Linked DNA regions of Homo sapiens: all the other regions are linked to region 1. The links are contacts of gene promoters, found by promoter capture Hi-C in blood cells and fetal thymus (Javierre and others, 2016). All regions are on one chromosome and are shown on one strand. The core of a region is centred on a gene start or on the middle of the fragment in contact, and the rest is flanking DNA. Distances in the headings are between cores, read along the strand shown. Region 1 holds the start of H3C12 (H3 clustered histone 12). Region 2 holds the start of H2BC4 (H2B clustered histone 4). Region 3 overlaps H2BC6-AS1 (H2BC6 antisense RNA 1). Region 4 has its middle 2.3 kb from the start of H2AC8. Region 5 has its middle 2.2 kb from the start of H4C6. Region 6 overlaps LOC105374986 (a long non-coding RNA gene). Region 7 overlaps H4C8 (H4 clustered histone 8).

The links. Contacts are between HindIII fragments. The CHiCAGO score rates a contact against its expected background, and 5 or more counts as called.
Region 2: a contact is called between the fragment with the promoter of H2BC4 here and the fragment with the promoter of H3C12 in region 1, in 12 of 17 cell types (total B cells, total CD4 T cells, M0 macrophages and 9 more). The highest score is 19.1, in total B cells.
Region 3: a fragment that was not itself captured here is called in contact with the fragment with the promoter of H3C12 in region 1 in 12 of 17 cell types (fetal thymus, total B cells, naive CD8 T cells and 9 more); the score reaches 30.2 in fetal thymus.
Region 4: a fragment that was not itself captured here is called in contact with the fragment with the promoter of H3C12 in region 1 in 12 of 17 cell types (fetal thymus, total B cells, erythroblasts and 9 more); the score reaches 22.1 in fetal thymus.
Region 5: a contact is called between a fragment that was not itself captured here and the fragment with the promoter of H3C12 in region 1, in 12 of 17 cell types (erythroblasts, fetal thymus, total B cells and 9 more). The highest score is 22.0, in erythroblasts.
Region 6: a contact is called between a fragment that was not itself captured here and the fragment with the promoter of H3C12 in region 1, in 1 of 17 cell types (M0 macrophages). The highest score is 6.4, in M0 macrophages.
Region 7: a fragment that was not itself captured here is called in contact with the fragment with the promoter of H3C12 in region 1 in 8 of 17 cell types (fetal thymus, non-activated CD4 T cells, erythroblasts and 5 more); the score reaches 27.3 in fetal thymus.

What each region holds. Positions count from the first base shown.
Region 1 is chr6:27,889,288-27,892,224 of GRCh38, reverse strand. It overlaps H3C12 (H3 clustered histone 12), which reads left to right and starts at 1,399. Exons shown (of 1, transcript NM_003535.3): 1 at 1,399-1,910. The coding sequence starts at 1,433. The coding sequence ends at 1,843. RefSeq lists enhancers at 1,427-1,646, 1,163-1,807, 1,867-2,166, 1,808-2,452, 2,453-2,937. The HindIII fragment of the contact is 2,915 bases long and covers 1-1,883 here.
Region 2 is chr6:26,122,480-26,125,416 of GRCh38, reverse strand. H2BC4 (H2B clustered histone 4) reads left to right here and starts at 1,491. Exons shown (of 1, transcript NM_003526.3): 1 at 1,491-1,950. The coding sequence starts at 1,513. The coding sequence ends at 1,893. H2AC6 (H2A clustered histone 6) reads right to left here and starts at 1,245. Exons shown (of 1, transcript NM_003512.4): 1 at 727-1,245. The coding sequence starts at 1,184. The coding sequence ends at 792. RefSeq lists enhancers at 869-1,078, 1,169-1,308, 643-1,328, 136-1,335, 1,579-2,318 and 4 more and a silencer at 1,342-1,707. The HindIII fragment of the contact is 15,442 bases long and covers 1-2,937 here.
Region 3 is chr6:26,159,424-26,162,360 of GRCh38, reverse strand. It overlaps H2BC6-AS1 (H2BC6 antisense RNA 1), which reads left to right. Exons shown (of 3, transcript NR_186648.1): 3 at 1,156-2,087. It also overlaps a transcript of H2BC5 not described here. Among named protein-coding and RNA genes, the nearest start is that of H2BC5, 2.8 kb to the right of the region's middle. RefSeq lists an enhancer at 1,039-1,790 and a silencer at 2,566-2,860. The HindIII fragment of the contact is 1,067 bases long and covers 1,010-2,076 here.
Region 4 is chr6:26,217,743-26,220,679 of GRCh38, reverse strand. It overlaps the pseudogene H3C5P. Among named protein-coding and RNA genes, the nearest start is that of H2AC8, 2.3 kb to the right of the region's middle. The HindIII fragment of the contact is 3,747 bases long and covers 1-2,937 here.
Region 5 is chr6:26,236,740-26,239,676 of GRCh38, reverse strand. No RefSeq gene overlaps it. Among named protein-coding and RNA genes, the nearest start is that of H4C6, 2.2 kb to the left of the region's middle. The HindIII fragment of the contact is 583 bases long and covers 1,165-1,747 here.
Region 6 is chr6:26,259,016-26,261,952 of GRCh38, reverse strand. It overlaps LOC105374986 (a long non-coding RNA gene), which reads right to left. Exons shown (of 3, transcript XR_926613.3): 2 at 1,546-2,634; 3 at 25-581. Among named protein-coding and RNA genes, the nearest start is that of H2BC9, 8.9 kb to the right of the region's middle. The HindIII fragment of the contact is 962 bases long and covers 1,052-2,013 here.
Region 7 is chr6:26,282,262-26,285,198 of GRCh38, reverse strand. It overlaps H4C8 (H4 clustered histone 8), which reads left to right. Exons shown (of 1, transcript NM_003543.4): 1 at 1-73. The coding sequence ends at 11. Among named protein-coding and RNA genes, the nearest start is that of H4C8, 1.8 kb to the left of the region's middle. RefSeq lists enhancers at 1-88, 1-380, 89-824. The HindIII fragment of the contact is 1,969 bases long and covers 368-2,336 here.

The sequences.
Region 1 (2,937 bases), core at 150-2,649:
AAAAATTAGCCGGGCGTGGTGGCGAGCGCTACTAAGGAGACAGGCAGGAGAATCGCTTGAACCCAGGAGGCAGAGGTTGCAGTGAGCCGAGATCACGCCACTGCACTCCAGCCTGGGCGACAGAGCGAGACTCCATCTAAAAAAAAGAAAGAAAAAAAATACCAGGCGCGAGGCCCTCGCCTGTATTTGGCGGACTGACAGCAGAAGGAACACTTGAGTCCCAGGAATTTGAGATTTCAGTGAGCCATGACCTCGCCACTGCACTCCAGCCTGGGTGACAAAGCGAGACCCCGTCTCAAAAAAAGAAAAACAAAACCCAAACAAAAGTATTTCTGGTGATCATTTGCTCCTGTGAATATAATAAATGTTAAACTAACCTTTTTGTTGTCTTTATGGGTCTTTATCAATACCAGAACCTGGTAGTTCTTTGATCAACTAAAATCTCCATCCTAATAAAATGCTGTTGTCAGAACTACCCAGATTCACTGGCAAAAATCTAATCACTGACCCAAACCTGTAATTCCGCGCATGCTAATGAAATTAAGCAATAATTTACATAATTAATCCAATCAGCCATTGGATTGCATTAAACTCAGTTAATGAAGAGGTCAGATACCATTTATTGGTATCATTTAGTCAAGCACCTATCAAACTCCTTCCCCACACCACACTGGACAAAACTAAAGTTTTGGTGTTTTAGAGAATGTGCCAGCCTAAGTTTAAATTGTTTTTGTTCTGGGTCTTGGTACAGTCATTAAAAGATTTAATTAAGCAGTTACAAAACGGAACTACTTTTTGGAAATACTAGCAAATACGTTGTTCTACTGTATGTATTTTTACACGATCCGAAATAGGAAAAATGACCCATTGGAAATGAGTTTAAGACTACGACTGACCTACACAAATTCTAGGTCAGATTATCTTTTCATTGGGGGAATCTTAACATGATTGGTTGAAAACAATAAATAAAAGTGGCGCGGAGGACGAGCGCAGTGGCTCACGCCTGTAATCTAAGCACTTTGGAAGTCCGAGGCAGGCGGATAACTTGAGATCAGGAGTTTGAGACCAGCCTGGCCAACATGGTGAAACCCCTTCTCTGCTAAAAAAAAATTAGCCGGGCGTCGTGGCAAGTGCCTGTAGTCCCAGCTACTCCGGAGGCTGAGGCAGAATCGCTTGAACCCGGGAGGCGGAGGTTGCAGTGAGCTGAGATCGCGCCACCACACTCCAGCCTAGGCGACAGAATTAGAAGCCGTCAGGTAAAAAAAAAAAAAAAAAAAAAAAAGTGGCAGGAACCAAATGAAGATAGTATTAACAACCAACCAGGTTTTTCCTACAACAGTTCTGACCAATCAGGATCAGATCATCGTTATAAATTCTGGTAGAAGCCACTGCTCATTCAGCTGCTTGCTTTCAGAGCATAGCTTTCTCAACTATGGCCCGGACGAAGCAGACAGCTCGCAAGTCTACCGGCGGCAAGGCACCGCGGAAGCAGCTGGCCACCAAGGCAGCGCGCAAAAGCGCTCCAGCGACTGGCGGTGTGAAGAAGCCCCACCGCTACAGGCCAGGCACCGTGGCCTTGCGTGAGATCCGCCGTTATCAGAAGTCGACTGAGCTGCTCATCCGCAAACTGCCATTTCAGCGCCTGGTGCGAGAAATCGCGCAGGATTTCAAAACCGACCTTCGTTTCCAGAGCTCGGCGGTGATGGCGCTGCAAGAGGCGTGCGAGGCCTATCTGGTGGGTCTCTTTGAAGACACCAACCTCTGTGCTATTCACGCCAAGCGTGTCACTATTATGCCTAAGGACATCCAGCTTGCGCGTCGTATCCGTGGCGAGCGAGCATAATCCCCTGCTCTATCTTGGGTTTCTTAATTGCTTCCAAGCTTCCAAAGGCTCTTTTCAGAGCCACTTACATTCTCACTGAGGATAGCTGTCACACCATTGGTCGACTGTCTTAAATCAACTTTAAAGCAGGGATAAACTGGCGGAAAGTCGTCAAGGGTTGTTCATTCTGATTCCTTGCAGTGTCCTTTGTCTTCTAAGACGGTCCTTTTCACTTGTCCTCTGTGACCCATCTCACAAGGGTCTCACTTTCTCCGAGGAAAGTCAGCAAATCTATATCCAAGGTCAATCCGCTTCAAGGGGAAAGCCAAAGTCCTTCCTGCACATGCTGTCCTTTGGGGATAGCATCTCCAGAACCCCATAACTAACAATTAGATTACAGGTTAAATGAGATGCCATTTTTAACTGAAACGGGCACTGCCCTTGGGTCCCCTGGAAGCTTGCTGAAAATCACGGACATGAGGCCGGTTGATTTAGCACATAGACACGGGAGACTTCAAAATGAGGACCCACCCACCAATGAGATACAGAAGTTTATATATCACCTTGAGATTATAGAAAGAGTGCAAGCTTGGAACCTGGGAAAACAGATTATAGGAGGGAGAAAGGAAGAGACTTGGCTAGCAAGGGGGGCGGGTCTTGTTATGTAGATGAAAACACATAGCTAGTAGTCCTCAGAAAAAATAGATGGTAAATGTCTCTTGTCAGGGTGGGCGTGGTGGCTCATGCCCTCCACTTTGGGAGGCAGTGGAAGGAGGATTCCCTGAGCCCAGGAGTTTGAGATCAGCCTGGGTAACAGCAAAATCCTGTCTCTACGAAAAACAAATAAAAAGAAAGGTGGGTGTTGCAGCGCACAACTGTAGTTCTAGCTGCTCAGAAGGCTGAGGCAGGAAGATTGCCTGAGCCCACGAGTTCAAGGATGCAGTGAACTATGATTGCACAATTGCACTCCAGCCTGGGTGACAGAGCAAGACAGTCTCTTAAAAAATAAAAATAAAAAAGGATCAGACTCTCAGTTAATCTCTCCTAGATCCAGGAAAGGACTAGAAAGGGAAAGCCTGGCAACAAATGGAAATTTCCCCCACAAAAGACTGATT
Region 2 (2,937 bases), core at 242-2,741, 1.8 Mb after region 1:
TTTCACCATGTTGGCCAGGTTAGTGTCGAAGTCGTGACCTCAGGTGATCAGCCCCCTCGGCCTCCCAAAGTGGTAGGATTAGAGGGGTGAGCAGAAAGCAAAGGTTTTTGAGTGGCCACAGGCCCCACTCTATTTCCTTTTCTGCCTGTAATGGCAACCTAGACGCTTGAGCTTCTTAAAATACAAGAGTAAGTTGCATGTCAGGCACCGTTCTACATTAGGGACATTAGTCTGTTTTACAGACACCTTTCAACTCCCTGGTTAACTTTTAGGTAATATACTCTGCACTTTAGCAGGAATGGGACCTATAACTCTCACAGAATTAGGAAAGTGAGGCTGCCTACAGCCTAAATTGAGAAAAAAATAGACGGGGGACTAGTCGGAGGACCAAACAAGGTTACCAACACGTTAGAGTTTTGCCTTCAATTTACATTTTTAAAGTAATCACAACGAAGTGTTTAGATCACGAGGCATCCCTGCATGTAAACTGTTAGGCACTAACTATGGTCGATCTTACAAAGCATTAACTAGAATATTTCTTTAGAGTATGATAGTACGTAACTGACCTACTATTACATACAAACAGACCAACCTTTAGTAACAGCGCTCCCCAAAAACCGAAAAGCAGTAATACGCTTTGCTCAAGGTTGGCATAAAATTAACTTACCTTAGTGCCTTTTTTCCTTCTACCTACAAGCAGTGAGGTTAGCTCTTCCTTTGAAACGGTAGGGGGGCTCTGAAAAGAGCCTTTGGGTTTGATAGCGTTTCCGGGAGCTCAGATACCTGTCAAATCACTTGCCCTTGGCCTTGTGGTGACTCTCGGTCTTCTTAGGCAGAAGCACGGCCTGGATGTTAGGAAGGACGCCGCCCTGAGCAATGGTCACCCGGCCTAGCAGTTTGTTGAGCTCCTCGTCGTTGCGGATGGCCAGCTGCAAGTGGCGCGGGATGATGCGAGTCTTCTTGTTGTCGCGAGCCGCGTTGCCGGCCAGCTCCAGGATCTCGGCGGTCAGGTACTCTAACACCGCCGCCAGGTACACCGGCGCGCCTGCCCCAACCCGCTCTGCGTAGTTGCCTTTACGGAGCAGGCGGTGCACTCGGCCCACCGGGAACTGGAGACCAGCGCGAGAAGAGCGGGATTTCGCTTTGGCGCGAGCTTTGCCTCCTTGCTTACCACGTCCAGACATTGCAATCAGACAAAAATCACCAAAACCAGCGGCCTAAGCTCACGAGAAAACAAACAAAATCAAGAAATATGTAAAACATGGCCGCTTTTATAGGTAGTTCCTGGGGAGTAAATCCGACTTTTTGATTGGTCGGTAGCAAATGCTAGTCAGATAGCCAATAGAAAAGCTGTACTTTCATACCTCATTTGCATAGCTCTGCCCACGGATGACAACTGTGCAGTTTGTCTTCCAATTAACTAAGAGGTACTCTCCATCCCTCATTAGCATAAAAGCCCTATAAGTAGCAGAAATCCGCTCTTTACTTTCGACACATTTCTGGTGTTTTAAGATGCCTGAGCCAGCCAAGTCTGCTCCCGCCCCGAAGAAGGGCTCCAAGAAGGCAGTGACCAAAGCGCAGAAGAAAGATGGCAAGAAGCGCAAGCGCAGCCGCAAGGAGAGTTACTCTGTGTACGTGTACAAGGTGCTGAAACAGGTCCATCCCGACACTGGCATCTCTTCCAAGGCCATGGGCATCATGAATTCTTTCGTTAACGACATATTTGAGCGCATCGCGGGCGAGGCTTCCCGCCTGGCGCATTACAACAAGCGCTCGACCATCACCTCCAGGGAGATCCAGACGGCCGTGCGCCTGCTGCTTCCCGGAGAGCTGGCCAAGCACGCCGTGTCGGAGGGCACCAAGGCCGTCACCAAGTACACCAGCTCCAAGTAAACATTCCAAGTAAGCGTCTTAACACCTAACCCCAAAGGCTCTTTTAAGAGCCACCCAGATACCCACTAAAAGAGCTGTGGCCAGACGCCAAATTTTATTTGGCGGCGGAGGGGTATTAGAATATAGGAACTGGAGAGGGGTGGGGACAAGTGTTGCAGCTTAGAGAGGGACAAAGGGTCCTGAACCCGAAAGAAGCCAGCCATTAAAAATGGCTTTGGGGTCAATTCGTTGTGCTTAAATTTAAAATGGAGACAAGCGGCCATTTTGCTAACTCGGCGTTCCCGGAAGAAACCGCAGGCTCGCTTAGGTTTCAGACCCAGCTGTCTGTCCCTGTCTACGTCGCCAGGATCAACGGTTGCCGTAATGTCATAATTTCGCCACCAGCTTCTAGCCAATAGGCTGTCCTGTCATTTTAAATATTAACCAATCGAGGGAAAGCTGTTTTGAGACTCTGATTTACATAGCGGACCGGAGTGGGAACCTGGGCAGTAACTGCCTAAGGAAGGACTCCCCCTCTGTTTTCGTGGCGCACACCTTCGTAGTATACTGAAGGGTGTGTCTCCTGGGTTTCCAACTGCCCCGGTAATAGTCTTTTAACCTAATATGCGTCAGTTTTGATAACAACACTAAGGCAGTACAGAACTAAAGATGTAAGCACTGCGCCAGATGTTGCTTCATACATCTTATTCTATTCAACTGGTTTATTCAAGATTCAAATCAAATCAAATTTTGCTTGAATCCCAGTGCTCAGTCAGCCATAAATGGTGTGTTGCCTGATTGAAACTTAAAATCTCCGTAGGGGGCTTGTAACATGCAGACAAGTTTGAAAGTTGCTTTAGGAGAAGCCAACTCTTAACTGCTGGGTAAATTGACAAGCCTTCGAACACTGAACTGAAGGCCAGTAAGGACTAGGCGCTGGGTGGGGGAGAATGAAGAGGAGACGTCATTAAACTTAGCACATACACTGTATCTCCTAGAGGACTCTCCCTTCCTAGACAACTGCAGGCCGCTTTGTGGCCTGGGAAATTCCACATTCCCTTAAGT
Region 3 (2,937 bases), core at 294-2,793, 1.7 Mb after region 1:
GATGATTAAAGCAAACAATAAATAGTTATGGGAGAGAATATCGAACATTTTTATTTGCTAATAGTACTATATGCAATTAAAATCAAGTCAGTCGACTATTGATTAGGATTAATAGAATTTGATAAGGTTAGCTAGACACAAAATTCATGTAAATAACCAATTATCCAATTATCCTCCTACATGCAGAATTTCAAACAGTGCTTTAGTGTGAGGTCATATGTCAATATGTAACAGAAGTCACAATCTTTTGAAAATCAGTATTACATCTGTAAAAATTTGGAGAGCTTAATTAATTCACAGCACACATAGTGACTCCCTTTTTTTGTATCATTTTTCTGTTTAAATATTTACTTTGTTAACCTAGGCTTGCTTTGATGAGCAATACATTAGGTTTCAATTTTTATTTTCTTATATTATTTTTAATTATTAGTAATCCATCCATTCTAGAAAATTATTGGCCATGATCTTTTAAATCTCACATTTGCATCATTCTCCCTGATTGTTTCTTCTGGTACTGTGATTAGGTCAACGTCAGATCATATTTTACTACTAATTCTAGGTCTCTTTTCATTTATTTATTTATTATTTGAGACAAGGTCTCACTCTCATTGCCCAGGCTGGAGTGCAGTGGTGTGATCATGGCTCTCTGCAGCCTTGATTTCCCTAGCTCAAGTGATTCTCTCACCTCAGCCTCCTGAGTAGCTGGGACCACAAGCACGCACCACCATGCCTGGCTAATTTTTTGTATTTTCAGTAGAGTCGGGGGTTTGCCATATTATTCAGGCTGGTCTCCAACTCCTGGGCTCAAGCAATCCTCCTGCCTTGGCCTCTGAAAGTGCTGGGATTACAAGCATGAGTCACCTTGCCCAGCCCTAATTCCAGGTTTCTTAAACTCACTTTTGCATTTTTATCTCTGCATTTCAGATAATTCCTTAAGATCTGATTACATAGTTTATTAAATTTCTACCGGTAGGTCCAATTGGCTGCTGTTAAACACATGCAGTAAGCTTTTCATTTCAATTTGTCTTATAATTACATGTTTATTTTCTAGAATTTCTATTAGGTTCTTTTTTCAAATCTATGTGGTCACTTTTGGTATTTCCTTAGTCCCTCAATATATTTATAAGACTTTTTGTTTCTTTTTTTTTCCTTCAGATGGAGTTTCACTCTTGTTGCCCAGACTGGAGGACAATTGCGTGATCTTGGCTCAATGCAACCTCTGCCTCCTGGGTTGAAGCGATTCTCCTGCCTCAGCCTCCTGAGTAGTTGAGATTACAGGTGCATGCCACCATGCCTGGATGATTTTTGTATTTTTAGTAGAGATGGGGTTTCACCATATTGGCCAGGCTGGTCTCGAACTCCTGAGCTCAGGTGATCCGCCTGCCTCAGCCTCCCAAAGTGCTGGGATTACAGGCGTGAGCCACTGTGCCTGGCCTCTTTTTCTTTTTTCAAAAAGACACTAGTCAATTCGAGTCTGTTTTTTTTTTTTTTTGAGACAGAGTCTCATTCTGTGGCCCAGGGTGGAGTGCAGTGGCACGATCTTGGCTCACTGCAAACTCCACCTCCCGGGTTCACGCGATTCTCCTGCCTCATCCTCCTGAGTAGCTGGGATTAAAGGCGCACACCACCACACTGGCTAATTTTTTGTGTACTTTTAGTAGAGACGGGGTTTCACTATGTTGGCCAGACTGGTCTCGAACTCCTGACCTTGTGATCCGCCTGCCTCAACTTCCCAAAGTGCTGGGATTACAGGCATGAACCACCGTGCCTGGCCTCAAGTCTGTATCTTGTTAATTCTCCCTTTTCATTTCCATTGTCTGTTGCTTTTTTTTTTTTTTTTTTTTTTCAGAGACAGGATCTCAAACTTTTGGCCTCAAGCAATCCTCCAGCCTCAGCCTCCCGAAGTGCTGGGATTACAGGCATTAGCCACCACGCCCAGCTCCCATTGTCTGTTGCTTTTGTTTTCATTAGTCATACTTCTAGTTTCATGATGTTTAATTTAGATTGTGAAGCTCCTTGTGCATTTTTGGGGGGATATTTTAGCTGTGGCAATTTGTTGAGGTGTAAAATGAAGCTTCTTTTCCAGAGATGACTTGTATTTGTTTCTACCGGGTGCTCAGGGGCACAAAACCAGCCTGGGATATGCCTAAATTAAATTCTCAGCTTGGGTGTTTGAATCCCTATGGTATGAATGCCAGGAACAAGTAAGCATCGATGGCTTGTAGTCCAAGCCTTAGCAGTAGAATCTACACTGCTCAGAACCCAACTTCGGAGCTGACTTTTTTATTTGCATTCATCTGTGATGGGTTTGTATGTGTGGTTCATCCTTCTACTCTTGAGATGACAGATTTAGGTCTGGTGTCTCACCTTCACCTAAGAAGATATATCAGGCTCTATACCCTGGTCAGTTTCCACGGGTTGAGTAAAAGCCAGCTGTAGTGCTTGGGGTTTAACATGGGCCAAGTCCCTGGCTCTGAGTTTACTTTCTTAGACCCTCTTTCTTACTTTTAAGAATTTAGAAAATATTACTCAGGCTTTTATTTATCCGTCCAAGTACCACGCTTGCCATGTTATGGAAAATGTATCCCATAATCCATCATTTCGTGTTTGTTTATGAGGGCATGAGGACAAACTTCTAAATTCATTCCTCTTTTAGACAATGATCATCCATCCATCACTTAAATTCTCCCTCTCAGCCAACATTTGACTCCAAACCTAGCCTCATCCATCTCACATTTTTCACGTCTCAAGTATTTGTTCCTTTCCTTCTGGCCACTCCCTCCTAGTTCCCTCCCGACTCTTTTCCGAGATTCTTTTTCTCCCGCAATCATCCATTCCCCAGCAGTGAAAACCTTTTGTCATCATCCTACCTTGTGCAGCAGAAGCTACATCCTGCCAGAAGGAGGTTTTCTTTCCCTTTCTACCTCCTCCAGTCCT
Region 4 (2,937 bases), core at 297-2,796, 1.7 Mb after region 1:
CCATTCTGACAGGCTGGGAAGGGTAGCTTTGGTTTGCTGAGAGACAGGCACTTGGAGGGAAGCAGGGAGGGATAAAACAGGAATTTTTGAGGATTGGGTTGGAGAAATATACATATTCAACAGGTTATAGGAGGAGCTATGAATATTCATGAAGGACACCCAATCAGATGTGTATTAGGTTTACATGTATGTAAGATATGTCCCATGATCACTTTGGGGTGAAGATTTAACATTTAAATGAGTTATAATTAGGTCCTATATATAAAACTGAAATGTAGGGCAGAAGTCCATGATCTGCATTCTCAGGAGACTGGTCACAACCAGTTGTGGGCCTGCAGTCATTTATCAAGAAACTCTATGGTCCTTAATATCTGTCTTGTCTGGACCACCATGGAGGAGGGTGGAAGAGGCCAGATAAAGTAAGTAAAAGGGCTTTCCGGTGTATTATTCCCTCAAATCGGACTTTGAGAAAATCTAGCAGTGATTAGAAAGGGGAAGAGGGGTAGAAACAAACAGGATGTGCAGCCTCCATCCTGTCATGCCTGGGAACTTAAACTTTTGGGGTCTTTTAGCCAAAGGAGGGTCCATTATTCTGTCAAAGGGGTTTAGAATTTTCATTTCATCCCTCACCTCTTTGAACATGCATTCCTTCCTTCTGGGTATTGGGTATGGGACAGCTCCATCTCTGGAATGGGGTCTTATGACCTGCAATTAAACAAGGTGGATCAAATAATTTCTCTGTGTCCAGTTTTTACACGAAAAGTTGGAAGGGAAGTTAGAGTAATATTTTTAGTTTTTGTGGTTGGCTTTGGGGAAAAAGGATTCTGGTTGTCATAAGCCACCTTGGGAAACCGGAATTCTAGTTTCTATGTCTAGCCTCAGGGGAGAATGGGACTGAGAGACAAGAGGGCAGGAGAAAGTCACAGAAAAATTTTGCTTCTGAGGTTGCTTCTTTGGCCTTCATTTTGGGGTATTGTTTCTGAGCCCCAATTTGATTGAGTAAAGAATGTCAGGGAGTTATACTATGGGGCTTCATAGACATTTATCTTGCAATTGCTATATTTTAATCGTGTTTTAGTGAAAATTTTATTTAAGAAACATTGTAAGACTTGTGAGGAAAAAAGGGAGGGGGAAGAATGTATCCCACTATAAAAAATTTATAGTTTTTACAAAGTTTGCAGGGAAATGTGCTTACATCATCTCACAATTTACCATTGATTAAAGGTATCAAACTATCGAAGTTACTTCTTGGAGGCTTTTGTCTGGTGATGCAAATAATTTCTGTTATTTGTATCACCAGAAATTATTTTTGATGCAAATTATTTGTGATGCCAATAACTTCTGTTCAGTGGAACACATATAACTGCAATTATTTAGAACCCTAGGGGCATTAATTTTTTTAATAATCTCATTCAGCAACCTTGTCCTAACATTTAAGAAAGGGCAGCTTTTCCCTTAAGTAGCTCAGTGACTTCTGGTAGCGATGAATTTCAGCATGATTCAGGGCCTATATCTGAGGGACACCTTCAAGCTGCTGGTGGCCAGAGTGCTCTTGCTGGCTGCCTTGGTGGCCAGCTGCTTAGGAGGCTGTCTGCCACCAGTGGACTTCCGTGTGGTTGGCTTGGTGCAGGCCATGACCTTTCATATCAGATTTACAGATCACTTCTCTTTATAGGGCCTGGTGTGTGATCCAATTAGATTTGAGATTTTTTACAGAGAAATGTGACTGGATTTCTACTAAAGTTGAATAATTAATTGTGCTTTACAGTGTAGTCCATTTATAAATTTAGGTCATAAAACTAAGTTTTTGCTGCTGGGTTTTTTTTGTTTTTTTTTTTTTTTCCTTTCCTAAACAGGATCTTGCTTTGCCCCCCATAGCTCGCTGCAGCTTCGAACTCCTGGGCTCAATCAATCCTTCCCCGCGTAATTCTCCCAAGTATCTAAGATCTCAGACTGAGCCACCAGGCCAGGCTTTTTCTTTTCTTTTCTTTTTTTTTTTTGAGACGACGGAGTCTCGCTCTATTGTCCAGGCTGGAGTGCAATGGCATGATCTTGGCTCACTGCAACCCCCGCCTCCCGGGTTCAAGCGATTCTCCTGCCTCAGCCTCCCGAGTAGCTGGGATTTCAGGAGCCCACCGCCATGCCTGGCTAATTTTTTTGTATGTTTAGTAGAAACAGGGTTTTGCCACGTTGGCCAGGCTGGCCTCGAACTCCTGACCTCAAGTGATCCGCCCATCTCGGCCTCCCAAAGTGCTGGGATTATAGGCATGAGCCACCGGGCAGGGCAGGCTTTTTACTTTTTGTGGAGGTGAGGGGGCTGTCTCGCTTTATTGCCCAGGCTGGTCTTGATCTCCTGGGCTCAAGCGATTCTTCTGCCTTAGTCTTTCAAATTGCTGGGATTACAGGTCTGACCTAGGGCGTCAGGCCGTTACTGCTTAGTTTCGTTTAGTGTTTATTTTAGAATACTGTGTTAATTGCTCCTTTTGAAAAGAGAAATCCAACAAACACAATTCTCACTAGAGGAATGTAGTCTTTTTTTTTTTTTTTTTTTTTGAGACGTAGTCTTGCTCTGTTACCCAGGCTGGAGTGCAATAGCGTGATCTCGGCTCACTGCAGCCTCTGCCTCCCGGAGTCAAGCGATTCTCCTGCCTCAGCCTCCCAAGTTGCTGGGACTACAGATGCACACCACCACGCCCGGCTACTTTTTGTATTTGTTTAGTAGAGACGGGCTTTCATTATGTTGGGCAGGCTGATTTCGAACTCCTGACCCTATGATCCGCCCTCCTTGGCCTCCCAAAGTGTTGGGATTACAGGCATGAGCCACTGAGCCCAGCCGGAATGCAGTCATCTTTAAAACTTAAAAAGCCCGCCCTGAAATGCTAATGGGCAGCTATCCTTCTTTGTTCTCTCGTTTCTGTATTAATATTTCACCCTTTT
Region 5 (2,937 bases), core at 207-2,706, 1.7 Mb after region 1:
GGCTGGAGTGCAGTGGCGCTATCTCGGCTCACTGCAACCTCCGCCTTCTGGGTTCAAGCGATTCTCATGCCTCAGCCTCACGAGTAGCTGTGATTTCAGGCACGCGTCGCCACACCTGGGTAATTTTTGTATTTTCTTAGTAAAGACGGGGTTTCGCCATGTTGGCCAGGGTGGTCTCGAACTCCTGACTTCAGGTGATCCACCCACCTTGGCCTCACAAAGTGCTGGGATTACTGGCGTGAGCCACCACGCCCGGCCATTTTTATTAATTCTTAAAATGTAGCAATACTTCTTAAATTTGGCCAATCATGAGACTTAGCGTTTGGCAGAGACATATACATTCACATCGTTTTTGGCATTCCTAATAAAGAAAGACCTCTAGTAAGGGAAACCAATATTAATTGAAGTTTCATTCTTAGTTTTTCAATGTATAATGCAATATCTGAGGTGTAAAGATAAGGAATCCCAGGCTTGAAGACATTATCCTCTAATAAATGGCATTGTATTGTTGGCTCGATTCTGGAGTCTCACTACCTTGCTACCTACCACTGCTTTCATGCCACTAAAGCATACATGGTAAATCATGGTGAATAAAGGTTTGTAAATTAACAAAAATAATACTAATAAATTCTGTGAAATACTGTCCTAATAAAAGATTCCGGAAGAAGTGTTCTACACACAGATCATAGGGTATGTGTAGTAGAAAAATTCAACATTAACTCTTACAGTCTACTGCTTCACATTCATTGCCTCCTATATACTGCAAGGGTAACTTAAAAATCCCGTCTCTGCTGGTGCCTAAAAGCAGTGAGAAGATTATTCATTTTGTGGAGTTAAGAGTCTACTTAAATTTTGGCTTAGGTTCAGTTACCTGTAGGAATAGACACAAGGATCTCAAGTGCTCTCCTTTTTGAGGTAGGCACCAAACAAGCATCATTCATTCATTCAACAATTTAATGTCCACTACATGCCAAGAATAGTGTACAAATACCAGGTTTACAAAGATAATCACATTTATTCTCTTAAAGAACTCAAAAGTTTAGTAAAGGGAAAAGTACACTCAGGGTTAGGGGGCAGATATCAGACCAGCATACTTCTACTTACTGTCAGGTATTTAAGGGCGGAGCAGCCATATCCCAGCTATACTGGCATCACTCTGAAGCTTGTTAGACATACAGAATTTCGGGCCCAACCCCAAATCAATGGAATTGATATTACATTTTTAATGAGATCTCTAAGTGGGTGGTAGGTATGCTCTTCCAAGTTTGAGAATAATTGTTTTAAAGCTCTGCTGTCCTATATTAGCCACTAGCAACATGTGCTCATTTTTATTTAAATTAATTTAAATTAAAAATTAATTTGCACACTTACTCTAGCCACATTACGGTACTCAGTAGCCACATATGGTTAGTGGCTACCTATTGGACAGTGTTAATACAGAATATTTTTATCATCGCAGAAAGTTTTATTGGGCTGTATCTGTGATAAGGGGGTTTCTTCTGAAGAGCTTCTAATCCAGTCTAGAAGGGAGGAGGGAGTTTGGTGGATGCCTGAGACATGTAAAGAGAAAACTGTAAGTTTGAGTATAGTAGTGGCCTTCTTAGGAAATAAAATTAACACAATACTGTTGTACTTGAAGAGGAATTTCAAGGAGCCAGTGTCCTCAGGTAAGACTACCTCATAGACGGTTACAATCGATGTGATTTCTCATGGACTTTTTGAACACGTTTGATTCTAACACAAAGCTTTATTTTCTATAATAGTCTATATATGTTTTCACCCCTTTTAATATTTATTCTATATAGTTTCTTTTTTTTTTTTTGGAAATCTTTAAAATCTGAATTGTGTGATGCTTAAGCACAGTGTCACTGGATTGATCTATTGAATACTACCTACAACTCTCATAGTCATTTACTATGGTGGTGGTGGGGATGGGGGAGTTAACACAAAATGAAGAGAACACTGGGCCTTAAGTTAGATAGCTATCACTTATCTAACTAGTTTTTCCTAGCTACTTTTTGCATCTATAAAATAAATGGTTCCAACCTCAGTGTAATGGGAAATCTACTGTTTTAGATTATATTCAGATTTAGGATTCCAAAGCAACACAGAACTCTTTTTGAGGGCTACCAAAGTAATAGGTGAAACTTTGCAGGACTTCAAGTTTACAGTCCATGGGGTGATCCAGCTTTCAGGAACCTTGTCCTTGCTACAATTACAGAGAAGATAAGTACCAGGTCCCAACTTATGTAGCCTAGCCCCTTTCCTCTTTGAACATCTGGCGAACTTTGTTGGTGAAACTGAGTCTCAGTTATTGCCCTCCAGAAAGAGCAGAGATTAGTTAGCCCAATGCCTTTTTACTTACTGAGATCCTAAGTAGCTATGGGAACCAGTCAGTGTTGCACAAGAATGAAATGGTGGCATCTGTTAATTGACTATATCTAACACGGTGAACAATTCCAACAATTATTCAACAACTATTAAGACTACAATAATGATCAAAATAATAAACAGTAAACAATCTGAATTTTAATTGTACCTTTACGTCTAGGCAATATAAAGCTATGGTCCCAAAAAAAAATACTTAGAGTATGCTTGTGACTATCACTGTTGAAAATGATATCCATAATGATGCACCGCCCCTGCCTCCAGAAACCTATAAAATGCTTCCCTACTGGAATTGTGGGGTCCTACTAATCCAATTCTATAAGTTTAGCTTTTTTATAAACCACATTTGTATTTCAGTGGTGTATAACACGGTCTTAAGTCCCAGAGACTTGTTTCTAATACATGCAAGAGAGTAAATAATTACTTAAGACAAGCTTAGTAATTTTTTTTTTTGAGATGGAATTTCACTCTTGTTGCCCAGGCTGGAGTGCAATGGCACTATCTTGGCTCACTGCAACCTCCGCCTTCCGGGTTCAAGCGATTCTCCTA
Region 6 (2,937 bases), core at 283-2,782, 1.6 Mb after region 1:
GTGGATAGAGTGATCACCCAATACTGCAATTGGACATAGATGTTTATTCTACTTCCTAGGGAAATGGGAGCTTGAGAAGTGTTTTTAGGGATATAATAAATGATTTGTAGGGGAATTCAATGGGCTTGAAGAACATGCAAGGGCCTGGGACAATGTCTGTTAGGGCTGCAGAGTAGACAGTGGTTTGTGACAAAATCTATCTAGGTTTGTTGACAGGCTTGTGTTTCTCCCTGTGATATTAGTTCATTTAATGAAAACTCAGAGTAGAGACTAAAGATAATTGTATTCTTTGGCAGGTTTGGACTTTAGGCAGATAAGGAACTTCTGAAAACAACTTCATCCTGTGCTTTGGGAGACGGAAAGGATTGAGAGACAGGAGGGGTGGGGAGAAGGTCAGAGAGACCTTGTAGCTTCTTCAGTTCAGCATGTCAAAGTGCAATATTTTGGGATATCAGTTTCTGAGCCCCAGCAGTGTCATATATCTTTGATTTTAGATATCCTCTCTTGCTCTAAATCCATTTCCAGAAAATCTGCTTATCTTCTGAAGTTGCTGTGCAGAAGCCCCCATTTTGTTCTTGATACTGGTAGAAAGAAAAGTGAAATAGAAGTCAGAATTCTTTGTTAGACCCAACTCTAACTAAGCTTGAGCAATCGCCTCATCATTACGAAAATCCATTGTTTCTATTTTGTAAATGAGGAAACAAGCTGAATGTTTCTGCATAATGCCTAAAGTCATCCAGTTAATAAAAATGATGTAACAAATTTCAACCCGGGTAGTGGGTCTCAAAACTCTCCTAATGTTAAGCATATTCCACTGCTGTGCTATAGTTTGTGAAAATAAATAAAATATGATGTGATGGTGCATTCCTGTAGCCCGTCCTACTCTGGAGGCTGAGGTGGGAGAGTCATTAGAGATATGAGCTGGAGGCTGCAGTGAGCTATGATTGTGCCACTGCACTCCAGGCTGGGTGACAAAATGAGACCTCATTTCCTTAAGAAAAAAAAACACACAAAAAAACCAGCTGTTGGAATTCCCAAAACACATTAAGCTTGAGAGAGATGAGATAACTTGAGTTCTCTTTTTTCTTGTTATATACAATGTCATGTCCAGAATTAAGCAACATTAGGCATTAGGGACAAAAGTCTCCTGCCTTTTTTTTTTTTTTTTGAGACGGAGTCTCACTCTATCAGCCAAGCTGGAGTGCAGCGGCATGATCTTGGCTCACTGCAACCTCTGCCCCTTGGTTCAAGCAATTCTCCTGCCTCAGCCTCCCGAGTAGCTGGGATTACAGGCACCTGCCACCATACCCGGCTAATTTTTGTATTTTTTAGTAGAGATGGGGCTTCACCATCTTGGCCAGGCTGGTCTTGAACTCCTGACCTCGTGGTCCACCCACCTCGGCCTCCCAAAATGCTGGTGTGAGCCAACTTGCCTGGCCCTGGCTTCTTAATTAATGATCCTTGTTTAACCTCCCCTTTGTTGTCCTGCTTTGCGGGGTCTGCCCCACAGACACTGGCTGACTGATGGATGAAAGGAGTACTCACACACAGGTATGCAGTGTAGCAGCTAGGGGACTGCCTGGATCAAGTGGCCAAAGTGCAGCCCCCAGAAGCTGGAGCTGCTTGCTTTTATTCAGTGCAGGCAGAATGCCGAAAGCCTGGAGCAAACACAATCTGTGGGTAATTAACATATTGTTCCCCTTTCAGGGGACGTCAGTCACACGGATGTTCAAAGTTCAATTCCTGGACAACTTCAAACGAACAAACCTGATCAAGATAATTTCACCTTCACCCCCTTGCACATACTCCTCACCCTCTGCTTCAGGGTTAGAGAACAGCTGCCTTTAGCTATTCTTCCCCGAAGCTATGCAGAGCCTTCTGACCCTTCAGAAGGCCTGCTCCTTTCCTTACAGTTTCTCTCACCACTCTGACTGATCTCCTACATCTCCCCCTTTTCTGTTTTTGCATCAGGTTTTGTTGATTGAAGAATACAGATGTGTGCAGTGACAAGCTTGACAGGTGCAGCGGTTACAGCTTGTGTTCCAGCTTTGCATCCCAGAAGCAGTAGGTAACATAAGACAAGCGTGAGTATAATCAGTAATATTCATTTCCAATCAAAGAGTGACCCACAGGAGTGGGGGTCTATCCAGGAGAGGTGATTTTGCACATTGTTCTATAGGGCTGTTACTGAGGAACCCCACCAGGGGTATGTTTATCCCTCCTACCCAAGCAGTCACATTGGTAGAAGCTGGGAAGGGGGTGTCTGCCCAAGTAACAGGGCGGAAGAAAGGTGGATCTAGAAGATGGGCCTAATAGAGTGTAGCAGGTACGAGTTGCAGGCAGAGTGAGAGAATAAGAAAAACCAATACCCTGCGAGTGTTGCAATGTACAACGGAGGGCATAGCAAGGAACAGATTATCTGGAGTGAATGGTGTTTGTGTCTGGAGCAGGATTTGCTCAGCTTCCTGAGTTGTCTTCTTCAGCATAATGTCCGGGGCCTGTGTCGTCCGAGGAAGCCGCATCGTTTTGGGGCTGCAGGTCCTGCAGGGTCATTTCCTTTATTTTTGGTACCGGGTTGGGTTCCAGCCATGCCATGGTATGGTTTCATATGTCGCGCAGAAATCCAAAGAGGACCTGAGGGGGTGTGAACACAAGCATATCCTCTTCCCCACGTTAACAAATCATTTGGACCTCACCATAGCTTACTATTTACATCTTTCCATAAAAAGTAAAGGTTTTATGTTTTGAAAGGTTTTTGCAAAGTGCTTTTCTATGGCTGATTGAAATTTATCGTTTAAATTTAGGAAGTTAAGGGTAAATAAGCCTTGTGCTAGTAGTGTTGCAGGGTCCTTACTCATATTCCCCCTTTTCTGTTTTATGGCTTGTCCTTATATAGAAAGGGGTTCTTTTCCTGAGTTACTTTGGTCTTTACTATTG
Region 7 (2,937 bases), core at 103-2,602, 1.6 Mb after region 1:
TCGGTGGCTAAGGCTCCTGCTTGCTGCACTCTTATTTTCATTTTCAACCAAAGGCCCTTTTCAGGGCCGCCCACTTTTTTCATAAAAGAGCAGACATCTTGTTATCCTGCTTTGTTCCAGATTTTTGCTGAGAAGTAGTTACTGTGCACATGTGTAGATTTGCAGGTAACGTTTAATTACTCGTGCTTAATCTCGCATGTTTAGGATTTGGGCATAAAGTACTTAAAGCCACTGTTTTCTGCTTGAGGGAAGTTGGTATGTTGAATATGTTTAGCTTTCTTGTGGCATTTTAACACTAGATATCAGTGAGTAAGCTGGATTGTGACAGTTTATAATTCCCGTGGGCCTTCCTCCTTCAGTTTAAGCTTGAAGCGTTCGTAAGGTTCTCAAAGACTACAGAAGTTGGAAACTTCGCGGAGAGACTGCAAGTTACCCTTTCCAAAATGGCGGGAAGGGCTAAAAACAAAGAAAGCTCGCACCCAGACGGCGGGCCTTAAACCAAGGCGAATCCGTGAGCGCAACACATCTGCGTGAGTAGGATCGCAGACCCAAGTCCAGGCGGCGTGCGCGCTGCTGCTTTTGACTTGGTGACAAAACTCGTCTACAAAAGGCAGTGTGGGGTAACAATATAAATGTTCACTTGAGAGCTTGCAAGTATTGTTTCCAATAGACTTAAAATGTGTTTTTGAATATTACGAAAATATTAAAAGGTAGGGTACCGCTTAGTGAGCAATATAGAAACATCACCATAACTTATTTTGTTGTTGTTGAGACGGAGTTTTGCTCTTTCATCCAGGCTGGAGTGCAGTGGCGCGATTTCGGCTCACCGCAACCTCCGCCTTACAGTTTCAAGCGATTCTCCTGCCTCAGCCTCCTGAATAGCTGGTATTACAGCCGCCCGCCTAATTTTTGTGTTTTTAGTAGAGATGGGGTTTCACCATGTTGGCCAGGCTGGTCTCGAACTCCTGATCTCGTGATCCACCCGCCTCGACCTCCCAAAAGTGTTGGGATTACAGGCATGAGGCACTGCGCCCGGCCACGAAAACTTAAATTCTTAACCAGCAATGATCGCCTTTTGAAAAAGTACACATTCAGGCATCAGGACAATGATTTGCTAGAGACCAAACTTGTAGGAGATTTGGATTGGCTTTTTTTTTCCTTTTTTGAGGCGGAGTCTCACCTTCGCCATGCTGGAGTGAAGTGGCGTGATCTCGGCTCACTGGAACTTCTGCCTCCCGAGTTCAAGCGATTCTACTGCCTTAGCCTCCCAAGTGACTACAGGCTCGCGCCACCACGCCCAGCTAATTTTGGTATTTTTAAGTATAGGTGGGGTTTCACCATGTTGGCCAGAATGGTCTCCATCTCTTGAGCTCGTGATCCGCCCGCCTCGGCTTCCCAAAGTGTTGGGATTACAGGCGTGAGCCACCGCGCCCGGCCTGGATTGGCTTTTCTTACGGCATCATTTTACTTGGCTTCTATACTCTGTCCTGAGCAGAAGTGACTTTTATATACTTAGTTGAAATCAGGTTAATATGCTTGTCAGTTTATACAGAGACATATGTCTGGTTTATCTACGTTGAAGATAATAGGACAATTGCTGCTTTAGGATGATAGTTCCATTGTAAAATCAGATTTTTCCTCTTTGTGGTCAGCAAGCAAATTGTAGGGTTATAACTTTGAAATCGAGAAAATCAATGGAGTTAGGGTTTCATCTTTTTTAAAGATATGCACTTGTACATTAATATGAAAAGAACGATGTTATCAGAGCTAAGGCACTGGTTTGTATGAGGATATAAATTTAACAACAAAAATTGAGCACATAACGTATGCCAGGTACTGTTCATGGCTCTGAGAAGTATAGGAGTGAATGACAGTGAACAAAACAGTATTTTCTGTATGCATGGCGTCTGTTGGGTGTGCTTTCACACGCAAAGTAAGTGAAACTATCAGATGGTGCTAAGTGCTATCACTGAAACAGGCTAAAGACGTGTGGAGGGAGGAGGTGATGTTTAATTAGTTATTTTTTTTGAGATAGGGTCTTGCTCTGTTGCCCAGGCTGCAGTGCAGTGGCGCGATCTCGGCACATTCCACCTCCGCCTCGCTTGGGTTCAAGCAATTCTAGTGTCTCAGCCTCCCGAGTAGCTGGGATTACAAGCATGCGCTACCACACGCAGCTAATTTTTGTATTTTTAGTACTTATGGGGTTAGGCTGGTCCTGAATTCCTGCCTCATGTGATCCGCCCACCTCGGCCTCCCAAAGTGCTGGGATTACAGGTGTGAGCCACCGCGCCCAGTCGAGAACGTGATAATTTTAAATGATAGAGTCATGGAAAGCTTTACTGATAGAGCGATGGTTGCAGAAAAAAAGACGAGAGAATATTCCAAATAGACGACCAAGTAGCAAAGCCTGGAGATAGCAGAGAGTTATTGTGTCTGGGCAAAAGGGCAGAAGAGGTGCAGAGGAATGGAGATGAGGTCTGAAAGGCAAATGGAGGCGAGAAGGGTGCAGAGGAAAGGAGATGAGGTCTGAAAGGCAAATGGAGGCGAGCAGTTCCTATATGGGCGGTGTAACTACTTTGGCTTTTATTCCTAGTGAGGTGGGAGCCACTCAGGGTTTTGAGCAGAGGACTGAGTTGATCTGATTTATATTTTAGAATGAGCTGTCTGGATGCCTGATGAAGAATAAACTGTGATGGAACCTGGATAGGAGCAGAGACCAGTTAGGAGGGTACTAAAATAAAGGAGTTTAGATGGCAGTGGCTTGGACCAGTGTATTAGTGGTAGAGGCTGTGAAAAGTTGTTGGATTCTTTGTTTATTTTGAAAGAAGGTTGATAGTTCGTTTCTGAGTCACTGAATGTGTAGAGTATGAGAGAAAGAAAATTTATGGATGATTCCAGTGATTTCATTGACAGCAACTGAAATGGAGGTATCAATTG